Linked DNA regions of Homo sapiens: all the other regions are linked to region 3. Evidence: promoter capture Hi-C in 16 types of primary human blood cells and fetal thymus (Javierre and others, 2016). All regions are on one chromosome and are shown on one strand. The core of a region is centred on a gene start or on the middle of the fragment in contact, and the rest is flanking DNA. Distances in the headings are between cores, read along the strand shown.

Region 1 (3,867 bases), core at 272-2,771, 3.6 Mb after region 3:
GCGCTAACATTTGTTGTTATAGGCTTCCAAGCATTTTCTATCCACAAACAAACACAGACACACACACCCCACACATTTTTTTTATTCTTTTCCCAAATAAAATTGGCGGTACACCCACAAATTTTAGGATGAAGACATGTTTAAAAGCATGGGCTTTGGAGCTCACCAGAACTGGGCTCACATCCTCTCCAACTACTGGCTGTGACCCTGGGCAAATTACTTTAAGCTTCAATTTTTTGTGTGAAGTGAAAAGCGGCAATGACTTCGGAAGGTTTGAGGATTAAGGCCTATAGCATATATACATCACCTAGCACAGTCAGATTCACAGTAAGTGTTCAATAAACACTCTTATTGTCTACCGCAAGTGACCTTTCTCATTATAAGATTAAAATCAGGGAATATGTTCCTCTCATAGTTTGATAACTGCCATTAAACAAAAGTTTTTTTTTTCAACTAATTACCGTATAAGTTGGAAAAAAAACTTGCTTTTCCAAAGCGTAAAACAGATTGGTCTAAGTAACACTTAAATGGGGGTTCTCGCATTTTCAGTGCCAATCTCCTACGTCCCCTCAGTACTTTGTTCACGGATGTCTAGAGAATGGACTTTCCAATACAAACTTATGATTTCATGATGTGCCGAAAATTCTCAACCAGGTTAAGTTTCACACTCTGTGTGCAGCATTTGCTTTATCCCGCAATTGCCGGGTGGTGCCCCTTCCAGCTCCCACAGTCGCGCCTCTCCATCCCCTCTGGAGCTAGGACTGCAATGGGAGAAGCCTCTCCCTGTTGGAGCCGTAGGGGACTTGACGGATGCGGGGCGCCTCCGGGGAGCAGCGGCAGGACCGGGAGTTGGGTAGGGTGAGGTGCGCCCGAGGGGGTGCAGGGTGCTGGCCGAAGGGTCCGGCCGGACGGGCGCGAGGGTCCTCTGCTGGCGACCCTGGAACTCGGCTCTCCCCGATCTTCGTCCTGGGGCACCGTCCCTGCCGTCTGCAGCCCCCAGGCCCCACTGCCTCTAACTCAGCGGCCCAGGCCCGTCCCAGTCGCTAGTTTTCTTTTTGGCATTGCCCTTTGCCCTCCCATGCAGTCCTCTGTTGACTCTCTCTTCAGTTCCAGTCACCTCTAGGTCACCCTCCCTCTACCACAGTCACCCATTTTGTCCCCTGTCCCCTTACTCTTCTTCACCTCTCCCCGGGCCGCCTTCTCAGAGGACTCTGCCGACGGAGATGCTGCGGACCCCGCGGCCAGGGGCTGCTCCCCGGACAACCCTGCGTCCACCTTTGCCCCTTCCTCGGGGGCGCGAGAGGCAAGTTTCCGCCCCGTCCTTTTCCCGGTGACAGGACTTGGCGGCGGCCACTGCCGGGGAGGCAGAGGGAGGGACGGCCTGGCTCCCGAGCCCCCTCCCCTGCTCGCGAGCTCGCGCTGTCTGTCTCTCCGCAAGTGCGGAGACGCGGAGGAGGAGGAGGAGGAGGAGGAGGAGGAGGGAGTTGGGGGAGGATCTCCATTGAAATAAACAACCAGGCAGCAGTTATTAACACGGGAACATGGCGGCCGCAGCCTCGGCTACAGCTTCGGCGGCGAAGGTCAGCGCCGACGGCAGCCGGCACCTGACGGCGTGACCGACCCGAGCCGGTAACCGCGCCTTCCCCCGGGGCCGCGAGGGCGGGCGGGGGGCGGGCGGCAGGCGGGGGGCGCCGCGTCCCCACCCCCGGCCGCGACTGCCCTTCCTGCGCCGAGCTCCGACAGAGCCGTGCGCCTCCGAGAGGCTGTTTTTGTGTGCGGGGACCGCCGCCGGAGTGCGCGGAAAACGGGAGTTGCATCCCGGAGGCGCAGCGACGCTGGGGAGTTGGGGCTTGGGGGTGGGGAGGGCGGGAAGCGACGGGGAGACGCGGAGTCCCCGGGAGAGAAAGGAGGCGCTCCAGCGCCTTGCGAGAGCTCAGGAGACGAGTCCCGGAGCGCGAGGCGGGCGGAGGCTGCAGCCCGCGGCGCGGGCGAGAGGTGAGCGCCGAGGCGCGGCCGGGGGTGCGGGCGCGGCCCCCGCCCCGAGGAGCGAGTGCCCATTGCCCAGCCCGGTGCGGGGTCGGCGGAGACCGAGGCTCTAACCCCTCGGGGGCAGCGCGGCAGAGCCGAGAAGGTGAATCCTGGGAAGGTGCATTCTTTAATGGAAGCGCGGAGCGGCTGCAGCGGAGAGTGGGAGCCGGGCGAGGGGAGGCAGGACTCGGGAAGTGCTGGGGGTGTGTGAAGGTGAAGCGGGGTGTCGGGGCGGCCGGCGAGCTGCAGCGCGGGGCGGGGAAGGGGAGCCGCGGCCCGGCGGGTGGCCCGGGCCCGTGTCAGCCCCGGGGGTGGGGGGCGAGGGGCGCCGAGCACCGCGGGCGGACGGGAAGGAGCTGCGGCGGGCGGGGCGGGCGGCGCGCTGGGGCCGAGCAGGCCGGGCCGTGGTGGGGGCGGGGAGCCGGGGGCCGGGCCCCGGCGGCGCCGAGCCGGGCTCGCCCCTGACTGAACTTTCTGGGTGCGGGCGTGTATGCAGGAGGCGCGCTGGGGCCGGGGCCGGGGGCGGGAGGCGGACCGGGAGGTTCCGGGTTGGCTCGCCAGCGCCCCCTTTTCTCGCCCCCTTCTCTCCGCCCCTGAAGGGACAGGCCCTCGGGGCCCCAGGCGGGAAGCGGGAGGGGCCCTGTGGCCGCCTCGCGACGGTCACGCCCCGGGCACGGGGACCCGGCCCTCTCGGGCCCCTGGGGGGTGCTGGGGGAGGGGGCCGGGGTCGTCGCTGCCGGCTGCGCTCCCCGCCTCCTCCCCTCGGGGGAGTCCCAGAGGCGCCTCTTCCGAGACCGGGGGTGGGTCGGTCCCTGGTTAGATGGCCCCTCCCTCTTCCCCTCCCTCTAGTGGTTTCCGGGGCCTGCGGGACCGAGGGGCGGGAATCGGGGACTGGAGCCCCCTTCCGCTGGCCCGGAGCTGGACTGGGCCTCCCGCGTTCTGGGTCCGTCACTGGTAGGGGAAACTTTCCCAAACCAGAGACCGAGCCTGAACACCTTCCTCCGCCACCTCGTCCTCTAATCCCACTCCCTCTCCACCTCCTCCGACGCCTTCCCCTCCCACCGACCCGAATCTCGGTGCGTCTGACTGATGGGGCAGTGAGCCAATCGAAGGCAGGGAGCTGACCTGCCGGGTGTCGGTGAGCCAATCGTGCGGACCGGAGGAAGGAAGGGGGCGGGGTTTCTCCTGACCAGTTAGAGCAGAGTTGCATGCGGGGCGGGGGAGTCATGGAGACGCTGAGAGCCAGCTACTCTTGTCCATCCCCGAGTCACCCGCTCCTTGATTTCTGGGGTTGTGTCACTTATAGGGGCTCCGACCCGCAGAGGCTGCCGAGGCACTCGAGGTCCTGTATGTCTTTCGTACCGAAATAGACGTTGTCTTAGACACGACGAAGTCTAAAGCCACTTTAGGATGTGGCAGTAACTCACCGAGGCCGGTTTCTAAAATGGCATATGCTGTAGTGATCATGTCCTGGACCTCAGCGTCCGGTTTACATGCTAAGGGTCACAGAAGACAGAAGTTACCCGTTTACCTCTTATCTCGGTTTCACTCAGCTATGCCAGAATGGGGACAATGAAATTTGAAAGGGAACCCTGAGAATGAAGGCATGGGAGCAGTATCACGTCAACTGATTATTGGTAGTAGAAAGCATCATTGTTCATAATGGCTTCACTGGTTTCTTGTTTAATTAGAGCTCCAGTTCCCAAAGTGTACTTGAAACTTCGGCATTGGGGATGTCATTAAAAAAAAAAGTTGTGGTTTATGGTATGCATTTTTTTTTCTTTTTGCAAACAAAATGAAGTTGGGAACTAAAGCATCACTGATTGAAACATTAAGTGT
Region 2 (4,145 bases), core at 766-3,265, 3.4 Mb after region 3:
CGCAGTTCCTGGTTCCCGCGAAGGGTTACGTGGCAGCCGGCGAGGGGCCTGCGGGCGGGGGCGGCCCCTGCGCTGCCGAGCTGGCTCGGGGCGGGTGGGCGGACTTGGGGGGACTGCCAGCCTCGGCCGCGGTGAGCGTCAGCCCCGCGAGGGCCGGGGAAGGCCGAGGCCCGGCCCCCGGGTCTGAGGAGTGCCGGCCTGGAGACCACAGGCCCCGAGTGACAGGGGAGCCCCCGGTAGCTCCGAGATTGGGGTGAGCGAGAAACCGGAGTCAGGCATCTGCTTTCGACTTGAAGGGCGGTGGCCGCCGGGCACCGGCGCAGTGGAGGCGCGCCAGATTGTTTTCATTTTTGTCTTTTAAACTGATATTATTACCAGTTAACGAACTTTTTGCCCTGACGCTTTAAAGAAACAAGGTCTGATGGATAAATCGAGGTTCTGAACAGCGGTGCCAAGGAATCGAGTAATTTTGTTTCTTGAAGTAGGAGAGGATGGGAATGTCAGGAGTGTGTAAATTCTCTTCCCACGTATCTAGTATTTTGATGACTTATTTAACAGCTGTTGAATGTGGATGATAAACTTTGCAAGGTGAACGAGTAACATCCTACGTTTTTCCCCTCGCTCCCCAATACACACGCTCATTCCTTTGCTTTTTTCCCTTTTTAATTTTTCTCTGGAGCCTTTATGTCTCAGTAAATATACAAATTATTTTGCTCCTGCCTTGTTTTGTCTCCTCTCTCCTGCATGTAACAAGTGAGAGTAGAGATTTTGGAGTATTTTTACGAGTCTGTATTTCCAGAGTCTAGGATAGTGCCTGGGACATAGGAGTGCTTAAAAAAAGATGAGCGACGTTAAGAATCCTTGAGAAAACCTAATGGAATGATATTACCAGTGACCAAAAGGTGAATACATTTTCTTTTTAATGGAGCATATTTGTTTTTTTTTTTAATTTTAAAATTAAATAATATTTTAACCTTATTTTCGCCTCTCATCAAATGGGCTTTTCTGGATCTAGATACAGATATTATTTACTCCTGATTGTGTCATGCATGTTTGAAACCACTGCTAAGGAGGTAGCAGGTATAGTTAAAGGGTAGGTAGAAGGAAACTAACATTCTCAAGCTTTAAGTCTGGGCTGTGCCACCTACCTACTGGGTGACCCAAGTCTGAGCCTCAATTTTTCTGCTCTTTATCAGGAAATAATATCACCTGTACTGTTCTCCTCACAGCCATTTTTTGCAAGTATCAGATGATATGGTGTGAAGGTAAATACAGTGCTAGGCCTGGTGCTCTGGCTTATGCCTGTAAACATCCCAACACTTTGGGAGGCCAAGGCAGGAGAATCACTGGAGCCCAGGAGTTCGAGACCAGCCTAGGCAACATAGGGAGACCCTGTCTCTACAAATGATTTTTTAAAAATTAGCCAGGAGTGATAGATAGCACGCACCTGTGGTCTCAGCTGGGCGGCTGAGGTGGGATAATTACTTGAGCCCAGGAGGTGGAGGCTGCGGTGAGCCAAGGTTTCACCACTGCACTCCAGCCTGAAGGACAGAGCAAGAAGACCCTGTCTCAAAAAAAACCCAATGTTAAACATTTGTATTCACTTTCTGAATTTGATACTTGCATGTACTTTCTGCTTTGACCTTAAAGTAGTACTTTAATATATGTAGTATATTCAATTTTCTGTAACTTGTCATAAACCATCTCCACATGGTAAGAATTCCTGACTTTAAAAACATATTTTAGGGGTACTGTGACCTGCAAGGTATATTTGCAGTGCTTTGAATGAAATGAAATATAAATCAGAAATTCTGACACATAGTATAACTTTGATTTTATATAAACTATTTTACATTCTCTTACTATATTTCTAGGGAAGTCCACCACCTATACCTTGCCTCACATGTTAGTGATTTTTTTAAACAGTGGATTTTCACCTTTATATAAATTTATAAAATTTGAAAATCTAAATAGACAAAAATACTAAATAGAGGTTTTTAAGTCAATTCAAAAGTGAGTGTTAAAGTGATACACAAAAGTGAAGTTTGTGCGAGTTCTTCCTTTTTCTTACCATATATTAAGGTGTTAGGATTTCAAAGCATGTTATCTATATATAGGACTTTGTAGACTAGGTTAGTTTTGCTATTCGACTTTTAAAACAATTGCTGCTGAATCTCAAAGTTAACATAATTATAGAATTACAGTACTTGTGCTAGAATAATAGAGAAATTGATTTTTTTTTGCAGAACTGTTAAGCCTGTTGTGCAGATACATTGAGGAAATGTCAGAGGATTTATGGTGACATTGACAAAGAAATTCAGAAAGAAAGAAATACTGTATTACTAGCCAAAATGAAGAAGCAATGGAGATACACTGTAAAAGCATGGATTCTGGAGCTGAAGGGATTCATGTTCAAGTTAGGGCTCTGCAGCTTGCTAACTGGGTGACCTAGGGCAGCTCAGAACTGAAGTTTCCTCATCTGTAAAATGGGGCTTATTGGGTTACTCTGACAAATTAACCAATTTGTATTATGCCTAGTTCAATACTTGACTTCCAAAAGGTGTGCAATAAGTGGTAGCTATTATTATTCTTTAAAAACTCACCAAAATTGGGAAATAGAAAGCATTTTTATGTGAGAGAAGGGCCTGGAATCTCTTTAGTTAGCATCTAAAGAGATTATACATACTGAAAAGGCTAACAAAGTAGTCTGTTTGGCAGTAATGTAAGAGTTTAATTTCCAGGGAACTTCACATTAATCAAAAATTGCTTGTAAATTTTGGAATCATAGTTTTATTACAGTAAATATCTGTCCACATAATTCAAATCATAGTATACAATGAATGGCTTCATATTTGAGTTAGGAAAAATTGAATGGTCAAAAAATGTTAGGGATGCTTGGGAAGCTTTCTGAAAGTGAGTATGTGGAGGAGGGGTGAAGAATTAGGGGTTCACAAGAGAAGTATTTCTTTTAAGGAGTGTATAAAGGAAAGATATTCAAAAGGAAATATATTCAAAAGGAAAGATATTCAAAATCTGCAAGTTCTTTATGCCATACAGATTTTGGGGACGTTTACAATTTCAACAATCTTGAAACAGTTTTCAAGGTTTGGGTTTTTTTTTTCTTTCCTTTTTTTCTTTCTTTTTATGACAGGTAAGGTGCTCAGGTCAGAACAAAGTTTGAGGGAGAGACACATCTCACATATAAGCGTGAAACCCCAATCATCACACTTGTGAACTACAAAAGGGTCTCTCTTTTTTTTGAGACAGGGTCTTGCTATGTTGCCTTGGCTGGAACTTGACCTCCTGGGCTCAAGTGATCCTCCCCTCTCGCCACCTGAGTGGCTGGGACTACAGGCACGTGCCACTGAGCCCCACTGGAAGTGGAATTTGATATTCAGAATTGTCTTTACTTTTCAAGGATCCAGTCCATGTAGTGACTGGTCACATCTTCCTCTAAAACAAGTGCAAAGTAGTTAACATCTCTATATAACAAGAAAGATACCAAGCCCCAACCGGTGACATTTAATTAAAGAAATGTTGTATTTATGACATTGCATACAGCATAGAATTAGGTAATTCATTACAGTTTCTGGTAACCTATTTAAGATGCATCTGAATAAGTCTCTTTTTTCATTTTTCCATTTTTGTAAATGGAGAGCAGCTCTGTAAATGTTCAAACTGTCATAAACTCAGGTATTTTTACTTTCGAGTGCATTATATATTTCTGTAGCCTATTTATATTCTAAACTAACTTATCTTACTACTAATTAATTGTGGTGTGAGTTTAACTGCAGCAATGCTAGCAGGGTGTGAGGCTTAGGAGGCCTGGAAATGGCTAGGAGCAAGACTGCTAGCTTAAACTTGAAACTTTTTGGAGTGTGTAGTTTACATTTTTCCTCTTCTTCTTCTATTTAAACTCACATGCTAAACCAGCTGGAGGTCAAATTTTAATTTTATTTGGAAGCCTGGCTAAAAGGATAATCTAATTTTTGCTGCTTTTAGAATTTGATGCTAAATTTATCTTTGAAGAATCTCATTTGTTGTTTGTAAAGGACTCTTTTTGAGATGGAGCCTCACTCTGTCACCCAGGCTAGAGTGCAATGGCGTGATCTCAGCTCGCTGCACCCTCCGCCTCCTGGGTTCAA
Region 3 (4,273 bases), core at 21-2,520:
TGTAATCCCAACCCTTTGACAGGCCGAGGCAGGAGGATGATTTGAGGTCAGGAGTTTAAGACGAGCCTGGCCAACACGGTGAAACCCCGTCTCTACTAAAAATACAAAAAAAAAATCAGCCGGGGTGTGGTGGAGCGCGCCTGTAATCCCAACTACTGGGGAGGCTGAGGCAGGAGAATCGCTTGAACCCGGAAGGCGGAGGTTGCAGTGAGCCAAGATCACGTCACTGCACTCCAACCAGGGTGACAGAGCGAGACTTCACCTCCAAAAAAAAAGAAATAAAATTTACTTGAAATCCTACATCAAATTTCAAGGGAACAGAAGCGTTCCCCATACATCTGAAAATGAGTTTCACAGTGTATACACTTCAAAATGTAAAAGGCATGCCTAATTCCTCAATGCTGAAATGTAATTAGATTCCAATTTCCATTTTAAGCATTTCTTCCAAGTTTTAACCAGGTTTGCCAATCCTGATATTTTACAGAGTAGAATTAGAAGACAATTTATTCAGATCAAAATAAAAGAATTAACATCTGCATCCCCCTTTTCCCAGGGACCAAAGTAATTCTTAAAAGTACAGCCACCTCATAAAAGTAGAACAAGCTCAAAGTCAGGTTAACCTGGCTCTTTCGGTTCTATTTCCAGGTGCTGCATCCAATTTTTTGCAAATTAACACTTCTAAGCTTCTACTCAAGGGCAGAAAAGGAACTACATATAGTTGTCACCACAAACCCTCTGGATTTGGAACTACCATAAAAGTAAGCACTTTCCAGCCGTTCTCCTGGACTCGCGGAGGCTGAGGACCCCGGGGCCCTCGGCCTGCTACTTCTGCAAGCCCCGCAGAGGGGGCTCCTCCCGCGCTCCAGCCACGGACACCTGGGAGAGGTCGCGAAGAGCCGCTGGGGCTCCCCAGGCCCGACACGACGCCCGCCCTCCCCGCCTCACTTGGGACACCAGACCTCGGACGCCCTACCTGCGCTCGACCCGGACGCCGGAGAAGGCGCGCGGCTCCCGAAGGCCCCGTACTCCAGCCGGCTACCGGCCCCGAAGGCCCGCTGCTGGAGGACGCCCGGGAGACAGAGGCCCGGGGACCTCGGAGCGCGGCGGCCGCACACAATGCAGTCCTCCTTCCGCAGAGAGGCAGTTCGACCGCCCACGGGCTGCCCAACGCCAGAAACAGCATCACGCGGGTGACGAGCGGCTGCGGACGCCCCAGCTGCACGAGTCCACGACTGCGAGACACGGCTTCCCACCCGACTGCCGCACAAGTGGCGCATGCCCAGCCCGGGACGCCTGACTGGCAGCTGGGCTGCCTGCGCGTGCGCAGAATCTGCCGCCCGCCTGCCGCCCGCCTGCCGCCCGCCTGCCGCCCGCCTGCCGCCCGCCTGCCGCCCGCCTGCCGCCCGCCTGCCGCCTTCCCGGCCGCGCGCGTTATCCGCCAGCTGAGCTGGGAGCCCGCCGCTCTGTCCTTGGCTCAGCGGCTCCTCCTTCCTAGAATTTTACCTTCTTTATAACAGTGTGGAGGGGCAGAGGGCTGTACGAGAATGACAATGCCCAGAAGCCAGGGTTAAATATTTTTTTTTCTCGTGGACGACATCACTAAAAACTGTTTCCTTTGCGGAAAATGATTCTAGCCTGTTGGCACAGAAGAAAGAATATACGATTTGAACAAAAATGAGTGATAACTTAATTGAATCATCGGGTTGGAGGAAAATAAATGGAATTGTTCATGTAATATTGATAGGTGTTACCAGATTTGTCTTCGGAAATCATTCACATCCATATACACATTGATTCATTACTTGTTAAAGAGGTACTGAATCTATTGCCAGGACTGAGCTAGGAGCAGAGGATACAAAATACTAGATTAAACTGGGAATCCACAGTGCTTAAACAGTGGAGGAAAATACCTGAAAATTGGCTAGAATATAATGTAATACAATTGAGACACCGCAATATACAAAATGTGGCTGGCCGTGGTGGCTTACACCTGTAATCCCAGCGCTTTGGGAGGTTTAGGCAGGAAGATCTCTTGAGGCCAGGAGTTTGAGACCAGCCTGAGCAATACAGGGAGACCCCGTCTCTACAAAAAAAAAAAAAAAAAAAAAACCTAAAACAAAAATAAGCCACACATGGTAAGTGTGTGCCTGTGGTCCCAGCTACCCAGGAGGCTGACATGGTAGGATTGCTTGAGCCCAAAGTCGAGGCTTCAGTGAGCCAAGACCACACTACTGCACTCCAGCCTGGACCACAAAGTGACACCGTGTCTCAAAAAAAAGAACAAACAAATGCCACAGAAGTACAAAGAAGAACATGATTAATTTTGCCTCAGAATGTCTTCAGACTGGCTTCACATTTAGCTCAGTCTTGAAGGATGAGCATCTTAGTAATAGAAACACACTTTTGTTTACCACTGCAGAACTATACATGTTTTTGATTTGACATGTTATTTGCACCGGAGAGGAACAAATTCATAGTCTAAAATAATGTGTGGCCAGGGGCGGGAGCTCACGCCTGCAATTCCAATACTACGTGGAGGCCCAGGTGAGAGGATCACTTGATTCCAGGAGTTTGAGACCAGCCTGGGCAACAAAGTGAGACCCTGTCTCTACAAAAAATTTTTAAATTAGCTGGGCATGGTGGCACCTGCCTGTAGTCCCAGCTACTTGGGAGGCTGAGGTGGAAGGATCACTTGAGCCCAAGAGGTTGAGGCTGCAGTGAGCCCTGATTGCACCACTGCACTGAGTGACACAGCTAGACCCTGTCTCAAAAATAAAAATAAAAATAAATCAATAGAATATGATCATGTTGGCAACTCCAAATACTGTCTATTGGGGGGAGTATTCAGAAGGAGATAATGATAATACCTCTATATGGATAACTTTATTTTATAAAAAGTTAGCTTCTACTTACATTTTGTTTATTTTTATTTTAATATTTGTTTTAATAGTAGAGATGGAGTTTCACCATATAGCCCAGGTTGGTCTCAAACTCCTGAGGCTCAAGCTATCCGCCCACCTCAGCCTCCCAAAGTGCTGGAATTACAAGGGTGAGCCACTGTGCCCACCTTTTATTTTGTTTTTGAGACAGGGTCTTGCTCTGTCGCCCAGGCTGGAGTGCAGTGGCACCATCATAGCTCACTGCAGCCTTGACCTCCCAGGCTCAAGTGTTCCTCTCACTTCAGCCTCCCAAGTACCTGGGACTACAGGCCACGTCACCATGCCCAGCTAATTTTTGTATTTTTAGTGGATACAGGGTTTCCTTTTGTTGCCCAGGCTGGTCTTGAGCTCCTGGAATCAAGGGATCCTCCCGCCTGGGCCTCCCAAAGTGTCACAGAACCTGAGCTACCACACCTGGCCTATTTACATTTTAAAAACTCTTCTGTTTAGGGTAATTCACTCACAATCAATATTCACTCTATTATTTTGCTGATATATTTAAAATTTTCACATAAAAATGTTTTTCTTAACTATATTAAGAGAACTCAAATTTTTTATCTTCTGTAAAGCTGTTCCCCCTACAAATACTGTAAGTAAATGAAAATAAAAACTTTTGTTTGATCTATTTCTCAAAATTTCTAAATAGATAAAATCAGATTATAGTCTGAAAACTCTGTACCATAGATTTACATAGAATTGTTATTTATGTTAGATGGATTTTCCAGTTCCAGTAAGTTAGAGACATTTGTTAAATATAAACTAATGGGATTTTAGAATGATTTTAAGGATGTTTTTAGGCCGCGCGCAGTGGCTCACGGCTGTAATCCCAGCACTTTGGGAGGCCAAGGTGGGCGGATCACTTGTGGTCAGGAGTTTGAGACCAGCCTGGCCAACATGGTGAAACCCCGTCTTCACTAAAAACACAGAAAAAAGTCGCCCGGCGTGGTGGAGCACACCCGTAATCCCAGCTACTCAGGGGGCTGAGGCACGAGAATTGCTTGGGCCTGGGAGGTGGAGGCTGCAGTGAGCCGAGATTGCGCCACTGCACGCCAGCCTGGGAGACAGAGCGAGACACCCTCTCAATAAAAAAGAAGGAAAGAAAAGAGAAGAGAAAAGAAAAGGGGCCTACAGCCTCCTCATCTGCACCTCCATGCCTGTCCTCCCCACCAAACTCTACTTCGAGCTACCATTACAGCCAAAAAATCTTTGTTCTGATTTCTGTAAAGGCTTTAAAAAATTTATCCAAGACAATCTCCTTGATTATTGCAACTAATTATAAAAAACCAATGTCTTTTATCTACCAAATTAACTAAATTAAACAAAAAAAAAGCCTT

Evidence for each region. Contacts are between HindIII fragments. The CHiCAGO score rates a contact against its expected background, and 5 or more counts as called.
Region 1: a contact is called between the fragment with the promoter of NCOA2 here and the fragment with the promoter of TMEM70 in region 3, in 3 of 17 cell types (total CD8 T cells, fetal thymus and non-activated CD4 T cells). The highest score is 11.9, in total CD8 T cells.
Region 2: a contact is called between a fragment that was not itself captured here and the fragment with the promoter of TMEM70 in region 3, in 1 of 17 cell types (total CD8 T cells). The highest score is 6.5, in total CD8 T cells.

The regions. Positions count from the first base shown.
Region 1 is chr8:70,401,462-70,405,328 of GRCh38, reverse strand. It overlaps NCOA2 (nuclear receptor coactivator 2), which reads left to right and starts at 1,521. Exons shown (of 23, transcript NM_006540.4): 1 at 1,521-1,629. RefSeq lists silencers at 745-904, 1,595-1,904, 1,945-2,234, 2,265-2,924 and an enhancer at 1,005-1,124. The HindIII fragment of the contact is 4,231 bases long and covers 229-3,867 here.
Region 2 is chr8:70,603,634-70,607,778 of GRCh38, reverse strand. All of the region lies in intron 1 of TRAM1 (translocation associated membrane protein 1), which reads left to right. LOC124902090 (small nucleolar RNA U13) reads right to left here and starts at 3,247; the gene lies at 3,142-3,247. RefSeq lists a silencer at 1-316. The HindIII fragment of the contact is 1,781 bases long and covers 1,125-2,905 here.
Region 3 is chr8:73,973,192-73,977,464 of GRCh38, reverse strand. TMEM70 (transmembrane protein 70) reads right to left here and starts at 1,270. Exons shown (of 3, transcript NM_017866.6): 1 at 974-1,270. The coding sequence starts at 1,183. RefSeq lists silencers at 922-971, 1,137-1,352, 1,402-1,481. The HindIII fragment of the contact is 7,182 bases long and covers 686-4,273 here.